Linked DNA regions of Homo sapiens: all the other regions are linked to region 3. The links are contacts of gene promoters, found by promoter capture Hi-C in blood cells and fetal thymus (Javierre and others, 2016). All regions are on one chromosome and are shown on one strand. Each heading gives the region's core, a stretch centred on a gene start or on the middle of the fragment in contact. The rest is flanking DNA. Distances are from core to core; before and after follow the strand shown. Region 1 has its middle 11 kb from the start of CADM3. Region 2 overlaps CADM3 (cell adhesion molecule 3). Region 3 holds the start of PIGM (phosphatidylinositol glycan anchor biosynthesis class M).

Evidence for each region. Contacts are between HindIII fragments. The CHiCAGO score rates a contact against its expected background, and 5 or more counts as called.
Region 1: a fragment that was not itself captured here is called in contact with the fragment with the promoter of PIGM in region 3 in 1 of 17 cell types (endothelial precursors); the score reaches 7.8 in endothelial precursors.
Region 2: a fragment that was not itself captured here is called in contact with the fragment with the promoter of PIGM in region 3 in 2 of 17 cell types (megakaryocytes and M2 macrophages); the score reaches 7.0 in megakaryocytes.

What each region holds. Positions count from the first base shown.
Region 1 is chr1:159,159,323-159,162,344 of GRCh38, forward strand. No RefSeq gene overlaps it. Among named protein-coding and RNA genes, the nearest start is that of CADM3, 11 kb to the right of the region's middle. The HindIII fragment of the contact is 642 bases long and covers 948-1,589 here.
Region 2 is chr1:159,175,826-159,178,832 of GRCh38, forward strand. The region is part of intron 1 of CADM3 (cell adhesion molecule 3); the gene reads left to right. It also overlaps the pseudogene RNA5SP60. Among named protein-coding and RNA genes, the nearest start is that of CADM3, 5.7 kb to the left of the region's middle. The HindIII fragment of the contact is 3,418 bases long and covers 1-3,003 here.
Region 3 is chr1:160,030,728-160,033,774 of GRCh38, forward strand. PIGM (phosphatidylinositol glycan anchor biosynthesis class M) reads right to left here and starts at 1,263. Exons shown (of 1, transcript NM_145167.3): 1 at 1-1,263. The coding sequence starts at 1,012. The HindIII fragment of the contact is 5,226 bases long and covers 1-3,047 here.

The DNA.
Region 1 (3,022 bases), core at 19-2,518, 870 kb before region 3:
GGACTGTTTGTCTTTTTTATGTTTATTTGCTGACTATTTTGCATGTTAGCAATTTTGATACTTTGGCATATATATTGCAAATAAAATCTTCCCAGTCTGTGACTTACTTTTACATTTTGTCTATGGGTCTGCAATTATATCAGTTTTAAAAATTATGCAGTAAATCTTATCGGTCCTTTCCTTTATCGACTCTAGGTGTTGTGTCTTGCTTAGGAAGGTCTTTCCCACTCTAAGATTAAGTATATTTTTCGACAGTTTTTGCAAACATTTTTAGTGTTGTTTGGTTTATAAAATTTAGCACAAGTCCACCTGAAATATATTGTCGTATATGGCATAAGGAAAGGCTAAACCTATCCCATACCAACTGACAAACAGATAACCAATTATTCTAATGTCTTTAAACAGTACAACCCTCTAGTCACTGATTAGAAGTGTAGTATATAATGAAGGTAGCACTCTTCATACACTAAATTTCCAAGTTGGTTTGTAACTACACTCTCTCTTCTGCTCCATGGTTCTATTTATGTATTCCTGTGCCAAGATTTCATGTTTTAATTGCTATAATTTTAAAGTTGCTTAGGATAGCTAGAAAATCATCCTCCCCCTTAGCCCCATGTGTTTAAAAAATTATGGCTATTTACTCTTGACTTTATCTTCCAAGGGAATGTTAGAATAGGCTAGTCAAGTTCCATAAAATATCTTATTGGAATTTAGCATAGTATTGCATCAAATTTATAAATTAAAAATTACCATCTTTACCACAATGAATCTTAGAATTAATATTTAAATACCAATTCAACAACATAACGTCCTGCTACAATTTTTTTTCCAACTGACATTGGGATAAAGATAAAGCTCTTCAGTGTCTAGTTTTCAAATCCCACCTCCCAAATTTGGTTTAAACTAGCCATCTCATCAAATTGATTTCCCTTATTTTTCATCCACAAAGCTTTTCAAACCAGTATACTGATTCTATCCTAAATAATCCTTCATTCCCTGTGCTAGAGATGCCATGCAATTAGGAAAGGGATAAAGCAGTTATATTCTTTGTCTACACATCCTCACTTTGAAGTGCTAACATTCTGGGTCTATCCAAGATCCATCATTACCCTTTAACAAGGCAAGAATAGGTATACTTTTCCTTATTAACTTAAACAGATTTGAGTTTGCAGGGGGAAAAATAGAGCTTTTTATGATTAAATAATCTACGACAATACAGTCATCCCTCAGTATCTGCTGGGGATTGGCTGCAGGACGCCCACACCCTTGCCACAGGATACCAAAATCTGCACATACTCAAGATCTACAATTGACCCTGTGAAAACAGCGGAACCAGCAGAACCAGGAAACTGGCATATAGAAAAAGTCTGCCCTCCCTATCTGCAGTTTGCCCATCCGGAGAATATTGTTTGGTTGCAGATATGGAGCCTGGAGATACAGAGGGCAAACTGTATTTATTGAAAAAAAAATCCATGTATAAGTGGATCCACACAGTTCAAATCCATGTTGTTCAAGGGTCAACTTGTTTTTTCGTCATTCATGGGAAAGAGAACTTGGTGTTGAGCAAGGAAACAGATAATGTGATCTGAAGCTTGAGGAGACCTCACTGGGTCCAAACTCTCAACATGCAGGAAAGAATTCATGCAGTCTTTGACAGATCGGTAAATATTAAAAAGAAGTGAGAAAAGGTTAGAAGAACTGAGATAACACTACCTGAGAAGAGAAGACTAAAATTAAACTGAAAAATGTTTCAAGTGTGTGTTAAAACTTGGAGGAGGTGGGAGTTGGGTCTGCCAAGAAGTCTGGGAGAGGCTGCATTACAGCAAAGTCACCACACTGAGGGAGCAGAGGATCAGGAATGACAAAGGGTCAGGGTGGCCACACGAGGGTAGCAGAGAGCAGGTTAACAGAGAGACCTTGGCGAAAGTGAAAAAAGTTATTGGAACTGAAAATCTAGATCCAAGCAGTGCTTTATACTCGGACAGTGAACACAGGGCAAGATTCTATGGTACACTCAGAGAAACAGAGGAACATCTCCCTGCTCTAGGGTGAAGAGGTCACAGAGAAAGGTAACTAACAAACATGTATTGGGTTCTATGCTAGGAGTTTTACATAAATGTCCTCATTTAATAATCTTTATAAGCCTACAAGATAGACAATAACAATGTCTGATGTTTAACACATGAAAAGACTGATCTCAAATGACATAAGTGGCACAGCTGGTATTTAAGCCCAGATGAGTCCACTTTCTAAATCCAGGCTTTCTCACTCTCCTGCACTCTTCTGCCTTTCCAATGAGTCAGAAGTGTCTCCTTGGAGCTGGGCCCAGAACCTGGTTAACTTTCTCAAAGCAGCACACACAGTCGTTCCTAGGCCTTCACAGTCCACATGAAAAAAAGCTATGGCCTTTTGTGAACATGGTGAGAACACCAAATGTATCTGCATCCATTCTTGGCTTAGCCACAAGGAATAGCAGCAGCAGTCATCAGCCTGACAGGTATGGGCACACAGGCACAGCGGTCCACAAGGAAGCCCTGGGACTGGAAACTGGTGGCAAACCTCAACAGATGTCACCTTGCTAGGGCATACTACTTTCAGTAATAGCAAGCTCTGGGATTTTAGGGTTTAAAAAGATTTTAAGACCAAAATGCACCACAAGAAACAGATTAAAAATAATCTGAAAAGAAACAGGTTAAAAATAAAGAACAGTAAAAAACATACAAGAGGGCATGGAATAGCATATCATAGCTTATCATGTTCAACTCATGACCATCAGCCATAGCCTCACTCACCTACTGGACCTGTCCTGAACAAAACTATTTAAGTGAAAAGGATCAGAGAAAAAGTACTAAAATGATAAAAGAAATGGCAGAAGGTTAAGAATTAGGACATTTCACCTAATGTAGAGGAGGTTAAGGGGCAATTTAATAACAGTCTTAAATCCTCTAGAGGGACATTATATAGAGGCTCATAAAAAGAAAGAGATATCTTATTTCATGAACCAGAGGAAAAAAGTCTTAAA
Region 2 (3,007 bases), core at 45-2,544, 850 kb before region 3:
TCCAGAGACAGCATCGCTTTGGCGTTCTGGTTACTTTGAAATAACAAACTGAGAGGTTGTGCCATTGCTCTGTAAATTCTTAGATTTGATTTTGGTACTTCTTGATGTTACTACTTTCTTGCAGTCCAAATAATATGTAAAACAGGATCAAAAGTTTATTTTCCTTAAATCACTTGGTAGGAAAAAATATCACCAGAGAAAGAAAACCCCTGGGGCTGTGACTAGTCTTATTCTTTGTTGTTTCCTACTCCAGTGGAACTGCATACTGGCTCAACAATCCCTTTTTTGTCATCTAATTCTCAGTAATGGAATTTTACCTAAGGATGGTGATCTAGGTTCCAGATTCTTGTTGAAAGCAAGCTGTGGATTGGACCAGCTACTTACTGACTACTGAGTGAAAAATTCAAAGTTATTATAAAGTTTTGGTAATTATATTTTCTTTTATTTTTCATGTTAGAATGTAATGTTTCATGTTTAACACTGACTATAGGCCCATGTACTAGAACATTTTGTTTCCTGTATGGGGTCTTGTTTTAGAGGTCCACCCTTAATCTCTGAGAATAGCAATCCCCATGGAAATGCTTACAAAAGACAGAGAGAAACAAACCATCAGAAAAGGACCCTGGAGAAGCAAGCCATCAGAAAAAGATTCTGTTTCTAAGAACTTGCTCCGATTAAGTATAAATACTTCAGGTCATCATAAAATGAAGAAGAACAAGTTTCCAGGGCTAGAGACCTGTTTCTGCCTCTGGGATCAGCAGTAGTGATGATTTTTTACAAGGTCAGAACCAGCTGGTGCCCAGGGCTCCAATAACTACCCAAGTAAAAACCCAGTCCAATTCTGTTATATATGACAAGAAGATCCATCCCTTCTAGTACAGAGAAGTCGAGCTCTCAAGAGGCTTGAACGCATGAATCTGTTGAGATTTTTACACAATAGAAGCTAAGATGCTAAGAAGTAAAGGTACATATTCTTCACTGAAGCAGCAACTACTAAAGAATCATTTCTTTCTTTACCAAAATTTTCCTAAGCCTTAAGGCCGTCATCAAATTCCTCAACTAACAGAGAAACTTCTAAATCCTGAGAACAATACTCTTCTTAAGAGGCATGATTCCATACCTCTCTTCTAGTGTGATTGTCTGAACTACTTACAGCAATTTTGGATACATTGGGACATTCTGAGTCTGATACGTCTCATACCCTACCTGACGAAAATACATATTTTGACTTTCTTGCATCCTACTGTCTCTGAGGGGGCACAGGCTCTCTGTTCCCTCTTTAGAAGATAGGCCTAATTTTACTCACGGTAAGTTGTAGCACATTAAAAGCCCCTCCATCACCACTAATATCTAGGTATTTAACATAATCACAGAAGATCATGTTGACAAACTGAGTCTGGTGGTGGTCCTCATTTTTCAGCACAGTCTCTTGACTGTGTATCAACCAGACAGGTTCAAATAAAGCACTTCAGGAGGCCTTATAGAGCAAGTGATGAGCGTAGAGTGATCCTAATAGAAGCCATGATGTCTGTTCTTTTAGTTCCTGTGCTTGAGAGCTGGCTGCCTTACCCCGTGATCCCAGTTCCCCTGTTCTTTATGGAGCAAACTATTATACCTGTGCTTTGAGCTCTCCATGGTGCTAGCCCCTGACAGTGACACTCCAGGCTTTTCTTGTTGCTCTCCATGGTCCTGTTTTACCTCCAAGTTTCATAATCTCCTTATTCTCCACAGTGCAGTCCCCAGAACAGGGCTGAAATCTCCCTCCCTGCCACCACAAACACACAGGTTCTTGGTTATGCTCCCCGACCTGTTCCACCACAAACACATGACAAAACTCTGAGATATAGATCTAGAAAGTCCTCACAGCCATCTGATCAACTGCAGAAAGGGAACAGAAGGGCAAGCAATTCTTAGGTTAAAAAAGAAGTGCTAGAAGGTTTTTGTAAGATGCTCAGGAAATTGTGGCCTACAGTGACCTCAAATGGCCTCAAAAGAACTGAATGTTTTGTCATATCTGGATTCATAGATTAAAAATACAACTATATATAGTTCTGTTTTAGATTGAGATAGTATTGCTCTTATATGATAACAATATACAGTTGTACTTTGGTATCCATGAAGGATTGGTTCCAGGACCTCCCACAGATACTAAAATCTGCAGATGCACAAGTCCTTGATATCAAATGGAGTGGCATTTGCATATAACCTATGCACATTCTCCTGTATACTTCGTTATCTCTAGATTACTTATAATACCATATACAATCTAAATGCTATGTAAATAGTTGTTTTACTGTATTGTTTAGGCAATAACGACAGGGGAAAATGTCTATACAAGTTTAGTACTGGCACAGCTTTTAAAAATATTTTCAATCTGCAATTGATTGAATCTATGGAGGTGGAACCCATGTATATGCAGGATTGACTGTATACACTATAAGTGTGGAATGTAAAATGAATCCTACCCAGTTTATAAACATGTACCTCTTAATAGCACTCTGAGCATGACAACCAACTCTAACTTTCCTGTCATGGTGCTTTTTTACCCTTTTCCCTCAACCTTAGCAAAGACAATACATAACAATGGGTTATCAGAATAGATAATGGAGGAATCCAGTAAATGAGAGGCATAGAAAGCAAGTATCAAGTGTACATCCATACCGTCCTGAACGCACCGGCTCTTGTCTGATCTCGGAAGCTAAGCAGGGTTAGGCCTGGTTAGTACATGTATAGGAGAAAACAAATATCAAAATCTTGACTTAACTTCCCCACCTTTATAACCACCTTGTACAAAACTAAATGGCTTTAAATATAACCATCTTCTCCCAGAGCACAGGTCCTTGGCCATATCTCAGTAGATGCATCTTTAAACTCTACTCTGCTATGCTTTAAGGGTACCTTCCAATAAGCTGATGATATCAAACGGCGTAGGGAGCTGAGAGTGCTCAGCCCGTCAGTCTTAGATTAGCCAGCCTGTTCTTCACATCGCATCAGAACTACACAAGCT
Region 3 (3,047 bases), core at 13-2,512:
AAAGAAAGTACTGGGAGGTGCAGACTTTGTTAAAAGTCACAAAAATGGACGTATGAAGAAAACAACAAAAAACGAGGTCTCTGTAATAGGCGAAAGACACAGCTGAAAGCAAGATGAGCTGTGGCAGGAATGCAGCAATTCCCAGGGAAAAACTCCACTTGCTCTCTGCAGTCAAATACAGCATGTAGAAGTACGGAGAAAAGTTGTGACGGATATCCCGCCTAGTCAGGTGATAAAAGTAGGTGTGTTCCAAAAATTCCCAGCCGTACTCATAGTAAAAACCAAAGCTCAGGGCAAAAAACGTGAGTCCAGCAACTGCTACAAACAGCAGCACAGCCCGATTACACAGCCTTTTCAGGAGCTCGTACAAACAAGCCTGGAAAGTGTACCGGAATTGACGGAGGCTTTTGTCATTGTCGCGATCTGGAAGCAGGTGGAGGGTTATGGGAAGGATGTAAGTCACTGGATATATCTTCATATGCACCGCGAAACCATAGAATACAGCTGCACACGCGACGAGTCTTTTCTTTATCAAGTAGAGGACCATCAGGACCAGGGAGGCGACAATAGAGTCCGCATTACCGCGGCTGGATACTGCCATAGGCAGGGGGTTAAGAAGCCAAAAGACACAGTAGCCACAAGCCTGGCGGCGCCCCAGCCCCTTCAGCAGCAGCAGGCGGTATAAGAGGAAAGCGGTGAGGAGGTCGCAGCTGATGAAGAGAAACTTTCCAAAGAGCTCGCTGAGGTAGATGTTGGGAGTGAGGAGCCAACCCAGCAGCGGGGTGTAACGGTACGTGGCTCTCAGGTAAGGCGAGCGCCCCTCCGTGACGAAGCGCGCGGCGTCGGTGAAGACCTGGTAGTCGATGTCCGTATACCTCACGTGCAGGGTCCGGTCCTGGAAGACGCCATAGAAAACCAGGGCGACTCTGGCTAGAAAGGCCACACCAAAGACGCCGGCTGGAGCCACCTTCAAGTTCAGGAGCCATTCGCCCCAGTGCTTGGTGGAGCCCATGATCTGACCGTGCGACAGCTGCTTAGCCCCAGCTCCAAACTGCCTTCGTACTTCTAACCTTCCCTTCGGTTCTTTGCAGCAGGTGGCCGCCGCATCTCCCACCCGCCAGGCTGCCAACCGAAACGACTGCAGACTATCACATCCGGCATGAAGCCCCGCCCCCGTACTGCTACCTGTCTCCAGCCCCGCGCGGTCTTCTCAGCCGCCCGAGCCAAAAACTTGCCTTCCTCTGGATGGACGGTCTCGCTTCCGCTTCTTCTTCCAGCGGAGGCGGGATTTCCGGTCCGTGGGAGGGGAGACGTCCGCTTGCCGGGAAATCCGGCACTGGCTTGAGGATTTTATGGAGTGGAGTGAGATTTCTTTGTAAGTGACAGCCCGCCGCCCCCCGCCCTCTTCCCGCGCCCCATTTCCAGTCCTCAGAGGAAAACCCTCCGACGAGCAGCGAGCTGCGGGCTGCGCGCTACATCCTTCAGTCCTGGGCTGGAGATCCGAGAGTGAAAAATGTAGGAGTGAAAGGAAGATAAGCCTTCTCATGCTTTACTCCACTAGCTCGCCGGTATTCACCGGGGATTTGTGGGCCCCGGACAGGACAGGATGAGTTGAAGGGGGCTGAGTGTGTATGTTCCATGCAATATTGGAGGCATACTTATATTTTTAAATTACTAGTTGGTAATCAGAGATTCAGATTTAAGTGGGCAGCTTGTATTTTATCCGGCAACCCTAGGTGAAGGTGATGGGAAAGAAGACAGGAAAGCGTCACAAAATTCCTTAACTTGTCAGCCCCTTATGCCTCAGTATCTCTGTATTTGCTATTTCTTCTGTCAAAGTTGCCATCCGCTCTCCAATCACTCTGGCAAATACCTACTCAACCCTTCAGGCATCAGTGCAAGTGTTAGCTCCCAGCTCCCACTCACTTCCTCATCACGCAGAATGAATGACTTAGATGCCAGTCCCCTCCCCTGTCCGAGGATAGGTAGACTGGGGCGGACGGGATCTAAGTTCCAGAAAATCACTCACACAGAAGACCCTGCCATGCTACTAAAAGTTCTCCCAGTGCTCCAGAACTCCCTGGTCATTCCTTTGTTACAGCATTTGTCACACTGCTTTGTAATAACTGTTTTTGTTTGTTTTGCTCTCCTAGTTTTCCATCAGGACACTTTCAATTCTTCGGTATCAGAGATTATCTTGTTCTTTTCTCTACCTCAACATCTAACACAGTACTAGTAGCCATTCAGTAAAGTTGAATTGATTTTAGAGGTTCCTCCTACCAGAATATTTCTAGAGTGGCATCTTTGGATTGCTCCCAACTCCCAGTTATTTTCCCTTTTAAATATCCTTTATGTATGTCAAGGTCCCCTGCTCCCCCCACCCCACTCCAACCCTACTTCCATGAATTTCTTGCCAAGGACTGTAACCCATTAGCTCTTCCCTTTCCGTGGTTACTTAGTGCACTTACATAGTCCGCATTGTAGAATTTGATACTTTATTTTAGATTGTATTCATAGCCCTCACAAGAGATTATAGGGTTCTTGGGGGTAGAAATTATATCTTATCCTTAATTTTTTTCAATTATGTGTAATTTATTGTAGTCTTAGGCACATGGTAAATGCTTAGTAAATACTGACTAATTGGATTTTATAGAATAAGCCTGCTTCCTAGGGGAAGTCTTCTAGACTAGAATAAGGAAAAGGAGGTGACTTCATGCAGTCTGAACATGCAGCTCCCAGAACTACCTGCTGCTCATCCATCCTACACTTCAATTTATCCCTTGGAGATGAACTGTGTTAATCTTATATATTCCATATTCATATTGTGATAGCTCTATGTCCTTTTATATGCCTTGGTATCATTACATGCCTTAGATTGATAATTCTAACCATTTTTTTGCAGTATATTAGCCATATATATAGTGGCAGCACATCACCACTCATATAATGATGATTATGATGATGATGATTACTATTATTTATAATAGCTGGATTTGTTGAGGACTCATTTGCAATGTACCAGGCATTATGCTAAGTACTTTTCATGT